2 separate regions of the Homo sapiens genome follow, and region 1 is linked to region 2. The links are contacts of gene promoters, found by promoter capture Hi-C in human tissues and cell types (Jung and others, 2019). All regions are on one chromosome and are shown on one strand. The core of a region is centred on a gene start or on the middle of the fragment in contact, and the rest is flanking DNA. Distances in the headings are between cores, read along the strand shown.

Region 1 (2,700 bases), core at 151-2,650, 150 kb after region 2:
TTTTCTTTGTAGACATATCTGTCCTCTTTGCGATAGGGGCAGTTCCTTGGGGACTGGGCAACTAACTTGTCTTGTGTGCCACTCACTTTCTGTGATTACATGGGGTTTAAAGAGTACACAGTAAGTGCTGTTGGTTTTCTTTAAACAAATGAATAAATTTTCTGAGGAATTAGTCAGTTGATTGTGGCCAAATATGGGATTGCTACTAAAAGATGTCAGCATGCATTTTGGATTTGATTTGTGGTTGTCTGCCATCTGGAAGTAAAATAATTGACAAACATTTTCAAGTAGACTTTTCTGGTAATTTAGGACTAATTTTAATGTAATTAAGAACATTTCTGGAGTTTGCAGAAGTCATTTCATCAAGTGAGGTTTATTCACAGAGGACAGAATAAGATTCTTTTCCAAGACCGGTCAGTAAATGGAACAGTAAAAGACCTCTAATCCCATTAACAATGAAAGCAGGGCCAAAATTTATGTTCCAGTCCTGTGTCCTGTGCTTTGTCATTCAGTGAAGACATAAACATCCAGTAAAAATGGGCTGGATTAATATAGATCCATTTTTCCGGGCCAAGAATTTCTTGAAAGAGGGTGGTAGACTGTAGTCATGCGATTTTTGAATACTGATTCTGACTTTAGTTAGCACTGTGTACCTCAGTTTCATTGTCGATACAATGGGGGTGACACAGAGATGGGGAGCTCTAATATCCTATGATTTAATGCCAGGTGTCTGGCAACCCATCCACCAGAGAGTGGAAGTAGCAAGCAACTTTATGGCTCTCATGAAATTCCTTGGGACCAGAATTTCTCATATCGCTAAATACACCAGATGCCAATGAATTGTTTATTGCCTTATATGGATGTCATGGTGGTTCTGGGCACCAGCTCTGAGGACAGGCTAAGCAGGATCTTTCTTGAAATTTCCATTCAGTTTTACCATTTTATGTAGGTTAGCCTTCCTAAGTCTCATTGTAAAATGATCATATTAACATTTCATTGAAAGTGGAAATGAAAATAGTGCCCACAGCATTTTAGTCCTTGTTGAAAGGACTAAAATGATGAGGGATGTATGATGATGTAAGGAGCACCTGATATAGTAAGAGTTAAAAAAATAATAATTGCTAATGCAGTGGTGAAGGACGGAGATAAGGATAGCCGTGACGAGTCACTGAAAGAGACAAGGTCATCAGTTTTCTTGTCCATCTCTCAGGTTGCCATGAAGATTAAATGATTCCATTTTTGTAGAGTTTAGCAGAGTACCTGGCACATAGTAAGCACTATTAAAAAGTGTTAATTTTCAAACTAATAGTATTTGAATAAGTTTCCCACACTCTGCAATATAGATCAGGCTTCTGTTGCATGAGGGCAACAGAAAAGGAAGGTGTTTGCTCCCACGGACACACTTTCTAGGCAGTCATTTAGTTTTATGATCAAGAAAGAACAATGCATTTCCTCCTGGATATGCTGTTGTCTCTAAAGACAACAGGTGCTCTGCCACAGTGCTGACTACCAAATAATTTGTCCTTTTCACCTTTCCTCATGCTCACGCTTCTTTTGTACTCTTTTCTGTATATGTTCTTTTTTTGGTATTCAAACTACTTTCCCTCTGCTGTGATCTTCCCCTCACATCTGCTCTTATCCCTTGCTTTGCCGCTAAGCCGCATGAGTCATGAGGGCTGTTCTGACAGAGGTGCAACTGTTCTTTGGCAATCAAAGAGCTGCTCATGCCCTGCTCGAAGTCATACGGTAATGCTGCAAATGCCAGCTCAAATGCCAGCAAAAACCAGACCCCCTTTCATCTCTCTCTTTTGAAGAAATTCTTTGTAGAGGGCTCCTTATGAATACTATCTTGAGACAGAGTGCATTTTTATCCATTTGTCTTGCTTTTCTCTCCCATTTTCCACTTACAGAGGGAATAGAAAGTTGGGATTCATGAGAAAACTCAGCAGAGGGAGCCTCCCAAGAATCCCTACCACTGACTTAGGTACAGAAATGCGATTTCCATCACATCTTGATTTTTCAGGAGGCCTTATCTGCTCAGATTTCATTTGTACCTTTCTGTCATGGAGTTACCCCAAAAAATCATGGACTTGTCTTTACAATCTTTTTTTTTTTTTTTTTTTTGAGATTTGTGACTCTAAGTTAGGTTTATCACACCAGATTTTTGTGTTTTAAATGTTTTAATCTGGTATACTGTGAGCCACTGTGCTATCCCAGGCTCAAAACTTACTTGGAGAGCATACTAGCTTTAGGGAATAACCCAACCAGCCTGTTTTGCTGTCAGGGCTTTTTATAAAGCACTTTTCTACACACTTAAGTAAACACCCAAAAATGAGATCAAAATTCCTTCTAAATCCTAGTGTTTCACTCATTATTTTTAGTTACTTATTGTTTACATCCAACCTAAATTGCCTAAAAAATATGCAATAATGTAGGAGAAACTAACTGAACTGATGCCTCCCTAAGACAGGGTCCTGGTGAGAAGTCCCAAAGGGAGTTAGGAAGGGCCTGCAGGATGAGTGCTTTGGCCTTTAACTTTATTCTTGTTCAGACAATTGTGTTTCTTGTCCAGGTACAGGTGTGTCACTGAGAAATTCAGCAACCACTGCAAGAGCAATAGGTGATTTCTGCTTACCCAGGCCTGACCCCCAATCTGGGCTGAGACTTTCTATTGAGCACCTACTCAGTGCAAGCTCATGA
Region 2 (2,700 bases), core at 151-2,650:
TGATCAGTACTTACAAATCATATCTCCGTAAGCAGTTAAGCAAAGATGATAGTATTTTTATACCTGATATGCAGCCTTTCATATTCATGAATATTGTTAGTGATGTTTATGTCTTCTGTGAAATAACCTTACTAGAGATATAAAAATATACCTTTCAGATAAAATCATTTAATCATGCAACAATGCACAATTACAGAAACTAATGTTAAAAAGTGTGTACCCATTAAAGAAAGAACCTCCTGTGTTTTATTTTAATCAACAGGTTTTTCCTCTTGTTTATTTCTCTAGTAATGGTATTCCAAACAATAAACCTGAAATAATAACTATTAGAGTGGAATATGATGTTCTAGGTAGAAAGTATTTTAGCACTGGTCATTAGATATAATAATCTCTACTGCTAATGATGACATTCATAATTTCATGAAATAAGACATATAAGAAAACCCAAGCTTAAAAAATAATGAACCATTCCATACATATACACACTCCACACAAAATATAAAGATTATATCCCAGTAAAAGAGAGAAAAGAAGCATTATTGAAACCACATCTGCACAGAGGTAGTTAATCATTAAGAATCGAATGTGTTGGAATAAAAGGAAAACCTTAAATTACAAACCTAGATGTCTTCATCATGGTGAAATGCATAAATTTCAGGGCTTTCCAGAGATCCCAGACCTTAGGATCTGCCAGAATCCACCCCTAAACCCTCAGATTTCAACCTTAAGAGAATTTCTCTCTTAAGAGAATCTTTGGATGGCTCAAGGACTCTGACACTCAATCCTTCCAACGCACTGGGAAACCTGGTCTGAAAATTCTCCAGATATCTCATTAAAGAAACCTAGACCATCATCATCATTCTGCGTTGTTTGTTTCCAGGTCTCTTTCTACGCACTAAACCGAAGAAGCATGGAAACTTCCTACAAAACATTATGGGAGAAGCATCAGCAATCTGCACGTACACAACACTTTTCCCCCGCCTGGCAGCCGCATCAGCAGTGGCGCTAGCATTAGGGGTGCTGTTTCTCCTTTAGAATTTGAACTTATCAGACCTACTGGCTCCTCCACCCACCGCCCCACCCCCCGCTCTTTTGCTTCAGAAATACAAGAGAATGAGGACATGCTTCTCATCTGGACCTGCATTTGGAACGCTGTCAGTTAATGCGGAGGGAAGGGGGAGAAAGTTACTTCGCAGACAGCGATGTCTCACCTTCCATGCTTGTTGCCATGGAGATGAAGTCCAGCCAGTAGACTTAAGTGTTGGCACGTTTGTCTGTGTTCGCTGATCGGTTCAGTAACAAATGTAGAAGGCGTGTTCTGGAACCTGCGTAGAGTCACAGGGCCCTGGTTAGCGCTTTCCTGGCCTAGAAGTGTAAATGTCTGTGTCTGTTGGTGAGACAGAGGACGTGGGCGCCCGCCGAAGTACGTGTGCGCGCGCGCGTTTGCAGGAAAACGTGCATGGATTTCTTCGGTGTGGCAGTGTGTAAATATTTGCGCTCGCGTGTGTCTGTGGCAGCATCTGTGTGTGTATGTGAGACTGAAAGGAGGTGGGAGATGAGGAGGGGAAGGGAATCAGCTCCAGCAGCAACAGGCTCTATTCTTCAGTTCTGCTAAAAGAAAGAGGAAGAGAGGAAGAAAAAAATAGACACTCCTTTTTTTTCTCACGACACACCCTGAAGGTTAGCAATTAGATTTCATCATTATCTTTGTTTACTAAGGCAGTGAGGGTTTAATTGATTTACTGCTGAAATCCTTGTTTTGCTCTCTTTGCTGCATTCCTGGCTGTGCTGCGGGCATTTTGCTGTGCTTTGGTGACAGCCGTTTTCAGTAGAACAGTAGGCACTAAATTCTTACACGTTTCTTCTTATCCGGTAAGGAAAATTCAGGAGTGAAAGGTGTATTGATTTAACTGGAGACTGAATGTGTCGTTTGGAGTTCTTTTCCTCTACTCTTTCCCTTCTCTCTTCCACACAAACACAACTGAATCCCCTTCCGTTTCTAGGAGAAGGCGCCTAGGCGCTGTCCGTAGTGCTGAAATGGTGCGTGGTGAGACCTGTCTCCCCAACACAAGCTAGAAGACAACAAAATAGCAGCCAGGAAACGCTCTGATAAAGCTCTAGATAGCTGCCAGGTACGTTTTCTAAACAGTGTTGAATATGTAGATTCTAAACCTAACCGACGTTGAAAGCAAGGTAAAGCAAAGCAAAGCAAAGGAAAACAAAAAAACAACAACAGAAACCTTGCTCTTTATCCTTATTTTAGGGGTCTGGCCGTTTCAACAAACTCAGTTACAGGGTTCCCAATTCTATTTATGTTTTGCGACTCTATCCAGAACCTACAAGTTGCAAGCACTTTTAGATTCCCTACAATCTTAATTATTCACCTTATAACTACTGGACTGTGAGTCGTTGGGGGAAATGTAGATACAGAATTGGGACACTCATCTAAAGAAAATACTTTGAAAACGTAATGTAACTGCAACTAGATTCAATAACAAAGTGAAGACAAACTTCATGATTATTTAGAGTATTTACTGATTTAGGAAATGTAATGGTCTTACAAAAAAATGGGCAATGTATAACTGAGAGTTCATATAAGACCACATTTTTTAAAAGTTGTTTTTTGATTTTAAACTATTAAGATGTCCTAAAATGTAGGTGAACTAACTGCCCTCTATGAAAGACTGAAAGACATATCTT

The links. Contacts are between HindIII fragments. The study calls those that stand out against the background at their distance.
Region 1: a fragment that was not itself captured here is called in contact with the fragment with the promoter of CTXN2 in region 2 in 2 of the 25 tissues and cell types used here (aorta and mesenchymal stem cells).

The regions. Positions count from the first base shown.
Region 1 is chr15:48,039,347-48,042,046 of GRCh38, reverse strand. All of the region lies in intron 2 of LOC124900354 (a long non-coding RNA gene), which reads right to left. Among named protein-coding and RNA genes, the nearest start is that of SLC24A5, 80 kb to the left of the region's middle. The HindIII fragment of the contact is 5,833 bases long and covers 1-2,700 here.
Region 2 is chr15:48,190,365-48,193,064 of GRCh38, reverse strand. CTXN2 (cortexin 2) reads right to left here and starts at 1,400. Exons shown (of 2, transcript NM_001145668.2): 1 at 1,212-1,400. CTXN2-AS1 (CTXN2 antisense RNA 1) reads left to right here and starts at 1,356. Exons shown (of 3, transcript NR_184082.1): 1 at 1,356-1,480; 2 at 2,004-2,132. RefSeq lists an enhancer at 893-1,396. The HindIII fragment of the contact is 12,187 bases long and covers 1-2,700 here.